Linked DNA regions of Homo sapiens: region 2 is linked to region 1. Evidence: promoter capture Hi-C in human tissues and cell types (Jung and others, 2019). All regions are on one chromosome and are shown on one strand. Each heading gives the region's core, a stretch centred on a gene start or on the middle of the fragment in contact. The rest is flanking DNA. Distances are from core to core; before and after follow the strand shown.

Evidence for each region. The method cuts DNA at HindIII sites, captures the fragments that hold promoters and counts their contacts. A contact is called where the count stands out against the background at its distance.
Region 2: a contact is called between the fragment with the promoter of OR7G3 here and a fragment that was not itself captured in region 1, in 2 of the 25 tissues and cell types used here (H1 embryonic stem cells and dorsolateral prefrontal cortex).

What each region holds. Positions count from the first base shown.
Region 1 is chr19:9,279,628-9,284,309 of GRCh38, reverse strand. No RefSeq gene overlaps it. Among named protein-coding and RNA genes, the nearest start is that of ZNF699, 28 kb to the left of the region's middle. The HindIII fragment of the contact is 5,089 bases long and covers 767-4,682 here.
Region 2 is chr19:9,124,712-9,129,065 of GRCh38, reverse strand. OR7G3 (olfactory receptor family 7 subfamily G member 3) reads left to right here and starts at 2,116. Exons shown (of 1, transcript NM_001001958.1): 1 at 2,116-3,054. The coding sequence starts at 2,116. The coding sequence ends at 3,054. The HindIII fragment of the contact is 7,276 bases long and covers 1-4,354 here.

The DNA.
Region 1 (4,682 bases), core at 2,062-4,561:
GTGTAGTCCCTGCCCATGAGGAACCAAACTGATCAGGGAATGAATACGCCATTGACCAATTTGTCTAACAAGCTTCAGAGGGGATAGACCACCCCAGGGCCCAACATGCAATTCATCTACTTACAGTCACCCAGGCCCCCAGGCGCAAGGTCCAAGACACTCATGCGTTCTCCAGGAGAAATCATCCAGGCCGCGTACCACCTGCCGGGCTCTGTCTCCCTGCTCTTTTGGGGGGCAGAGCTTCTGTCTTCATCGCCTACTTCCACGAGACAACAAGATTCAGGGGAGGTTGAGAGGTGACAGCGTGCTGGCAGTCCTCACAGCCCTCGCTCACTCTCCGCGACTCCTCTGCCTGGGCTCCCACTTTGGCGGCACTTGAGGAGCCCTTCAGCCCACCGCTGCACTGTGGGAGCCCCTTTCTGGGCAGGCCAAGGCCGGAGCCGGCTCCCTCAGCTTGCAGGGAGGTGTGGAGGGAAAGGCGCGAGCGGCAACCGGGGCTGCGCGCGGCGCTTGCGGGCCCGGCTGGAGTTCCGGGTGGGCGTGGCCTTGGCGGGCCCCGCACTCCGAGCAGCCGGCCTGCCCTGCCCGGCCCGGGCAATGAGGGGCTTAGCAACCGGGCCAGCGGCTGTGGAGGGTGTACTGGGTCCCCCAGCAGTGCCAGCCCGCCGGCGCTGCGCTCGATTTCTCACCGGGCCTTAGCTGCCTTCCCACGGGGCAGGGCTTGGGACCTGCAGCCCGCCATGCCTGAGCCTCCCACCCCCTCCATGGGCTCCTGTGCGGCCCGCGCCTCCCCGACGAGCGCCACCCTCTGCTCCGCGGCTCCCAGTCCCATCGACCACCCAAGGGCTGAGGAGTGCGGGCGCACGGCACCGGGACTGGCAGGCAGCTCCACCTGCAGCCCCAGTGCGGGATCCACTGGGTGAAGCCAGCTGGGCTCCTGAGTCTGGTGGAGATATGGAGAACCCCTATGTCTAGCTCAGGGATTGTAAATACACCAATCAGCACCCTGTGTCTAGCTCAGGGTCTGTGAATGCACCAATGGACACTCTGTATCTAGCTACTCTGGTGGGGCCTTGGAGAACCTTCATGTCTAGCTCAGGGATTGTAAATACACCAATCGGCACTCTGTATCTAGCTCAAGGTTTGTAAACACACCAATCAGCACCCTATGTCTAGCTCAGGGTTTGTGAATGCACCAATTGACACTCTGTATCTGGCTACTCTGGTGGGGCCTTGGAGAACCTTTGTGTGGACACTCTGTATCTAGTTAATTTAGTGGGGACGTGGACAACCTTTGTGTCTAGCTTAGGGGTTGTAAAGGCACCAATCAGCACCCTGTCAAAACAGACCACTGGCTCTACCAATCAGCAGGATGTGGGTGGGGCCAGATACCAGAATAAAAGCAGGTTGCCCCAGCCAGCAGTGGCACCTCGCTCGGATCCCCTTCCAAGCTATGGAAGCTTTGTTCTTTTGCTCTTTGCAATAAATCTTACTACTGCTTACTCTTTGGGTCCACGCTGCTTTTATGAGCTGTAACACTCACCGCGAAGGTCTGCAGCTTCACTCCTGAAGCCAGCGAGACCACGAGCCTACTGGGAGGAACGAACAACTCCAAACGCGCTGCTTTAAGAGCTGTAACACTCACAGTGAAGGTCTGCAGCTTCACTCCTGAGCCAGCGAGACCATGGACCCACCAGAAGGAAGAAACTCCGAACACATCCGAACATCAGAAGGAACAAACTCCAGACGCGCCACTTAAGAGCTGTAACACTCACCGCGAGGGTCTGCGGCTTCATTCTTGAAGTCAGTGAGACCAAGAACCCACCAATTCTGGACACAAGGTGGCTCCTGTGGTGGGTCCACATTGTCAAACCTTCATAGCTCAGTAAGTGTTGAGGGAAATAGGGAAAAGAGATGATTGAGGGGAAAGGCATTGACTTGTTAATCATAGGGCAGGAGAAACCCTGTGATGTCCACGGAGAAGGGGCTGTTGAGGCTGATTTCTTGGAAGGGAGAATGGCTAGACTACTTGCTTAAATAGCCATTGTATAGCGAGCTTTAACTTTGCCTGTATATTACTTGGGTAGATGACTGATGGAGGTTATAGGAAGGGCTACTCTTTGTTGGCCTGGGGCACTGTTTGATATCTTAGCGCTGCCCTGGATCACTCTGTGTGGTCTTGGAGTGACCAATCTGCATTGTACAAATGGATGCTCCAAGGTACATGATAGGAATTGCAATTCTCCCTGGGGCCTGGAGGGAAAGATGGATTTAGGGCAGGCAAAACTAAGGACAAGGAAACAGGGTTGGGGATTCCTCATATCATTGGAATTGAGGGGAACAACTCAGGAATATTTTTGCAGAAGAAAAACAAAGGCCAGGAGAGGTAAAGGAATGAGGTCAATGTCTTGCTAACAATCTCAGCTTAAGGACGAGACTTGACTTCAAGTGAAATGAAGGGAATTATGGAAAAGAATCCTGCAGGTTTCAGTAGGAGCTGTAGGTGCCTTGCAGTGAAGTCCTGGTCACTTCTAGTTCTTTTCACCTACTACCTGACCCAAGAACTTCAGAGGCCCTCAGCCTAGATCAAGCCTCTCTGAATTCTTCTCTGTGACCCTCACTTGCTTGGAAACATCTCCTGCCTCTCCAGAAAGACTTATCCTTCCCCATCCTTCTTTACCCTTATCCATGATTCTAAGTAGACACCTTCAAGAGACAAGCGTCTGTGTTCCCTGGAATGGAAGGCCATGGTGTATAACAACTAGGGTACGATGGGTGAGTGAGGGAAAGTGAAGGGCTCAGGCAAGCCCAACATCCAGTCTCCTCTTGACATCGTATCCTCTGGGGAACACGAGGGAAGCATTGAAACCTGCAGGATTCTTTTCCATAATTCCCTTCATTTCACTTGAAGGTCAAGTCTCATCCTTAAGCTGAGATTGTTAGCAAGACATTGACCTCATTCCTTTACCTCTCCTGGCCTTTGTATTTCTTCTGCAAAAATATTCCTGAGTTGTTCCCCTCAATTCCAATGATATGAAGAATCCCCAACCCTGTTCCCTTATCCTTAGTTTTGCCTGCCCTAAATCCATCTTTCCCTCCAGGCCCCAGGGAGAATTGCAATTCCTATCATGTTACTCCTTTGATTGCCGTTCCTTCACAGCCCCATCCTTTATGGATTATACTTTTCAAAGTTCTTAGACATGTCATCCCTGCCCACCTCTCCAACATCATCCTCATCGTTTCTATCTAACACTTTGTACTTAAGCAGCAGCAAAGGGCTAAGAGAACTCTGTCCCATGCTGCTTCTTGCTTCTAGGCTTATTCCCTTGCTTATATCTCTGCCAGAAATGCCCCTGTGCAACCATTCACCTGGGTAACTCCTTGCCCAGGTATTCCTTCCTCCAGGACTCCTTCCCTGAATGCATTACTCCAGGCTGGATTGAGGGTTCCTCTCTGTACTCCACTCTGTACATCGTTTTATTTTAGCACTTAATTCACTGTGTTACAATGATCTGTTTCTGAATCCATCTTCTGGAAGGTGGAACCATAAGAAAAAAAAGACCACATCATTAATCTTTGTATCCCCAACAGCTAACACTTAGCCTGGCCCAAAGAAGACCCTCTTGCAGAATGGCTGTTAGCACTTTTTCAGTGACTGACAACCTAGTTGTCAACCTAGTTCAATTCTTCTGTACTTCCCAGCACGGCTCAACAAAAATTATGCACCAGGCCACGTGCTGTGGCTCATGCCTGTAATCCCAGCACTTTGGGAGGCCGAGGTGGGCAGATCACCTGAGGTTGGGAGTTGAAGACCAGCCTGGCCAACATGGTAAAACTAACTAGTTTTTGTAAAAAACTAGCTAGTTAGTTTTGTATTTTTACAAAAACTAGCTGGGCATGGTGGTGCACACCTGTAATCCCAGCTACTCAGGAGGCTGAGGCAGGAGAATTGTTTGAACCCGGGAGGCAGAGGTTATAGTGAGCCGAGATTGCGCCACTGAACTCTCCAGCCTGGGTGACAGCTCAAGACTCTGTCTCAAAAGAAAAGAAAACAAACAAAAACCCAACAACAACAAAAAAAATTGTGCACCAACACTAGACACTAGAAACAGATTAGGACATATTTATTATGTGGATGGAAAAAGAGAATCATATAAGTGTCAAATGACTGTATCTTTCTGGTCTCTAATTTTGAAACCCTGGTTCTAAGGTAGAAAGTTTTTAATGTGCGGTCAGCTTCTTAAGATGAATGTTATTACTGGTAATGTCATGACCTATTTGAATCAGAATTTGGCTGCCACCATAATTCCAAGTGGGACTTAAGGCAACAAGTAACCCTTCCTTCCTTCCTTCCTTCCTTCCTTCCTTCCTTCCTTCCTTCCTTCCTTTCTTCCTTTCCTTCCTTCCTTCTTTCCTTCCTTCCCTTCCTTCCTCCTTCCCTCCCTCCCTTCCTCTTTCCTTCCTTGAAAACCTAAATCCACTCATCTTGCAATATTTTGTCTAGCTATTATCTCTGCTTTCATATTTTCTCACTGCTCAGACATAGTTGTCTGACCTTCTTCAGTCTCAGTTGTGTCTTAGACAAGGAAGATGACCCTGACCTTTTCTTAAGTTCACTGAACCTTATATGTGTTAGAGCAGGTGCAGACCATTTTATCTCTAAGGTCTAAAGTTGCTCTTGG
Region 2 (4,354 bases), core at 867-3,366, 150 kb after region 1:
TCACGCCATTCTCCTGCCTCAGCCTCCTGAGTAGCTGGGGCTACAGGCACCCACCACCACGTCCGGCTAATTTTTTGTATTTTTAGTAGAGACGGGGTTTCACCATGTTAGCCAGGATGGTTTTGATCTCCTGACCTCGTGAACCGCCTGCCTCAGCCTTCCAAAGTTCTGGGATTACAGGCTTGAGCCGCCGCGCCCAGCTTGTTTGTGTATTTGTTTTAAGAGGCAGAGTCTTGCTCTGTTGCCCAGGCTGGCATGCAGTGACCCTATGAAAGCTCACTGCAGCTTCCAACTCCTGGGTTCAAGTGATCCTCCCAACTCAGCCTCCCAAGTTGCTGGGACTACAGACACGTACCACCGTGCCTGGCTAATTTTTAATTTAATTTAATTTTTAAAAAATGTTTACTATAGATGGGTCTTGCTACTTTGTTCAGGCTGGTCTCAAACTCCTGGCCTCAAGCGACCCTTCTGCCTCAGCCTCCCAAAGTGCTGGGATTATAGGTGTGAGCCGCTGTGTCTGGCCAGGAACTCAATTTGTGAAGCAAAGGGCTGAGATGGGCTCACTGCACCATTCAACTGTTCACATGCTGTGATTCTATAATATGTTTGCCCCAACTCCTGAGTCATCATTACAGAATTTCCTTAACTTATGGGTTTATGAGAACAGCAGGCTGATGTTTTGACATTGCCGGCATACATCAATTCTTTACTTCCTGCTTTGGGGGCCCCAGAATCAATTTCTCAAGAATCTGGATAAGCCAGAAGGAACAGGAAAGGTTTGGCGCTGACTCACACAGGACTCCTCCAGGAATCAGTGCCAAGGCTCAGGGGTTGCCTGAACCAGGGGCTGCACCAGTAATAATAGGAAGAGTGGGTGCAGTGGCTCAAGCCTGTAATCCCAGCACTTTAGGAGGCTGAGGCGGGTGGATCACTTCAAGTCAGGAGTTCAAGACCAGCCTGGCCAACATGGTGAAACCCTATCTCTGTTAAAAGTATAAAAATCAGCCAGGTGTGTTGGCACACACCTGTAGTTCCAGCTACTTGGGAGGCTGAGGCAGGAGGATCACTCAAACCCTGGAGGAAGAGGTTGCAGTGAGCTGAGATCCCACCACTGCACTCCAGCCTGGGTAGCAGAGCGAGACTCCATCTCAAAAAAAAAAAGAAAAGAAAAAAATAATGGAAAGAGGGTCTGATGCATGGCTTACTGTTAAAATTTTCTTTATTAACATTATCTGTGATACAAATGAAAGACAGATGAAGGCAAATAAAAATAGTGGGAGGGGCTTATGCTGCTAGATAAAGAGGGCTTAATTTTTATTTTCACAAACTGTAATGAGAAAGGGAAATTGGTGGGTGAGAAAGACACTGATAGGGTACCTAGGAAGGAAGTAAAGAACAGGCTGGGCATGGGGGTTCATGCCTGTCATCCCAGCTATTTGGGAGGCTGAGAGAGGAGGATTGCTTGAGCCCAGGGGGATGAGGCTACAGTGAGCTATGATCATGCCACTGCACTCCAGCATGGATGACAGAGAGAGAGAGACCCTGCAAAGAAGAAAGAAGGAAAGAAAGAAGGAGGGAAGGAAGGGAGGAAGGAAGGAAGGAAGGAAAGAAAGAGAGAGAGAGAGAGAAAGGAAGGAAGGAAGGAAAAGAGAGAGAAAGAAAGAGAGGGGGGAAGGAGGGAAGGAAGGAAGGAGAAAAAGAGGAGGGAGAGAGGGAGGGAAGGAGGGAGGGAGAGAGAGAAAGAAAGAGAAAGAAAGGAAAGGAAGAAAGAAAGAAAAAGGAGAAAGAAAGAAAGAAGGAAAGAGAAAAGAAAGAAAGAGAAAGAGAAAAAGAAAGAGGAGGGAGAGAGGGAGGGAGGGAAAGAAAAAGAAAGTAAGAAGAAAGAAAGAAAGAGAAAGAAAGAAAGACGGAGGGAGAGAGAGAAAGAAAGAAAGAGAGAGAAAGAGAAAGAGAGAGAGGGAGAGAGAGAAAGAAAGAAAGAAAGAAAGAAAGAAAAAGAAAGGAAGGAAGGAAGGAAGAAAGAAAGAAAGAAGGAAGGAAGGAAGGAAAAAAGGTCTATAACTTATAACTGGTTTGGTTTTGATAATATTGACAAGATCAAGACTCATCAACAACATGAAAGCAGGAAACTTCTCAGACACTCCAGAATTCTTTCTCTTGGGATTGTCAGGGGATCCGGAGCTGCAGCCCATCCTCTTCATGCTGTTCCTGTCCATGTACCTGGCCACAATGCTGGGGAACCTGCTCATCATCCTGGCCGTCAACTCTGACTCCCACCTCCACACCCCCATGTACTTCCTCCTCTCTATCCTGTCCTTGGTCGACATCTGTTTCACCTCCACCACGATGCCCAAGATGCTGGTGAACATCCAGGCACAGGCTCAATCCATCAATTACACAGGCTGCCTCACCCAAATCTGCTTTGTCCTGGTTTTTGTTGGATTGGAAAATGGAATTCTGGTCATGATGGCCTATGATCGATTTGTGGCCATCTGTCACCCACTGAGGTACAATGTCATCATGAACCCCAAACTCTGTGGGCTGCTGCTTCTGCTGTCCTTCATCGTTAGTGTCCTGGATGCTCTGCTGCACACGTTGATGGTGCTACAGCTGACCTTCTGCATAGACCTGGAAATTCCCCACTTTTTCTGTGAACTAGCTCATATTCTCAAGCTCGCCTGTTCTGATGTCCTCATCAATAACATCCTGGTGTATTTGGTGACCAGCCTGTTAGGTGTTGTTCCTCTCTCTGGGATCATTTTCTCTTACACACGAATTGTCTCCTCTGTCATGAAAATTCCATCAGCTGGTGGAAAGTATAAAGCTTTTTCCATCTGCGGGTCACATTTAATCGTTGTTTCCTTGTTTTATGGAACAGGGTTTGGGGTGTACCTTAGTTCTGGGGCTACCCACTCCTCCAGGAAGGGTGCAATAGCATCAGTGATGTATACCGTGGTCACCCCCATGCTGAACCCACTCATTTACAGCCTGAGAAACAAGGACATGTTGAAGGCTTTGAGGAAACTAATATCTAGGATACCATCTTTCCATTGATGTCTCAGCTTCTTGGGCTTACACTGCTGGGATATGTCAGGGAGAAAGAAGTAATGAGAAGTCTTGAAAGCCTGACTAATGTCTTTGGGGTTTTCTGTTTTTGTTTTTGTTTTTGTTTGTTTGTTTGTTTTTTGAGATGGAGTCTCGCTCTGTTGACCAGACTGGAGTGTAGTGACGCAATCTTGGCTCACTGCAACCTCCGCCTCCTGGGTTCAAGCGATTCTCCTGCTTCAGCCTCCGGAGTAGCTGGGATTACAGGCACGTGCCACCAAGCCCAGCTAATTTTTCTATTTTTAATAGAGACGGGGTTTCACCACATTGGCCAGGATGGTCTCGAACTCCTGACCTCAGGTGATCTGCCCGTCTCAGCCTCCCAAAGTGCTGGGATTACAGGCATGAGCCACTGTGCCCCACCTGACCAATGTCTTTGAATACATGAGACCAGAGATCAGATGGTTCAGGGTGATAGTTTTGGAATCGGACCACGTGGACTTGAGTTCTTTTTGGATTGATTGACTGACTAATTGATTTTTGAGACAGTCTCTCACTTTGTTGCCCAGGCTGGAGTGCAGTGGTGTGATCACAGCTCACTGCTGCCTCGAATTCCTGGGCTAAAGCGATCCTCTGGACTCAGCCTGACGAGTAGCTGAGACTGCAGGTGCATGCCACCACACCTGGCTTTTTTTAAATTTTTGTATCAATGCATAAGAGATGTACATTGTTTCAGGATGCATGTGATAGTGTAATACATTTGTATAATCTGCAAGGATTTGTTACTTTAGATATCCATCACCTTAAATATTTGTCTTATCTTTATGCTCCAACCATTCCAATTGTTCTCTTCTAGGTATTTTGAAATATACAATGGATTATTTTGAACTATAGTCACCCTACTGGTCTATCCAATACTAAGTCTTTTTTTAAAAAAAATTAAATTTAATTAAAAATTTAAAAACTTATTTATTTATTTATTTATTTATTTATTTATTGAGACAGAGTCTTGCTCTGTCGCCCAGTCTAGAGTGCAGTGGCTCAATTTCGGCTTACTGCAACCTCCACCTCTGGGGCTCAAGCGATTCTCCTGCCTCAGCCTCCTGAATAGCTGGGATTACAGGCGCCTGCTACTGTGCCTGGCTCATTTTTGTATTTTTAGTAGAGACAGAGTTTCACCATGTTGGCCAGGCGGGCCTTGAACTCCTGACCTCAGGTAATCTGCCCGCCTCAGCCTCCCAAAGTGCTGGGATTACAGGCATGAGCCACCATGCCCAGCTAGCTAATTTATTTTTAATTTAAAAATTAA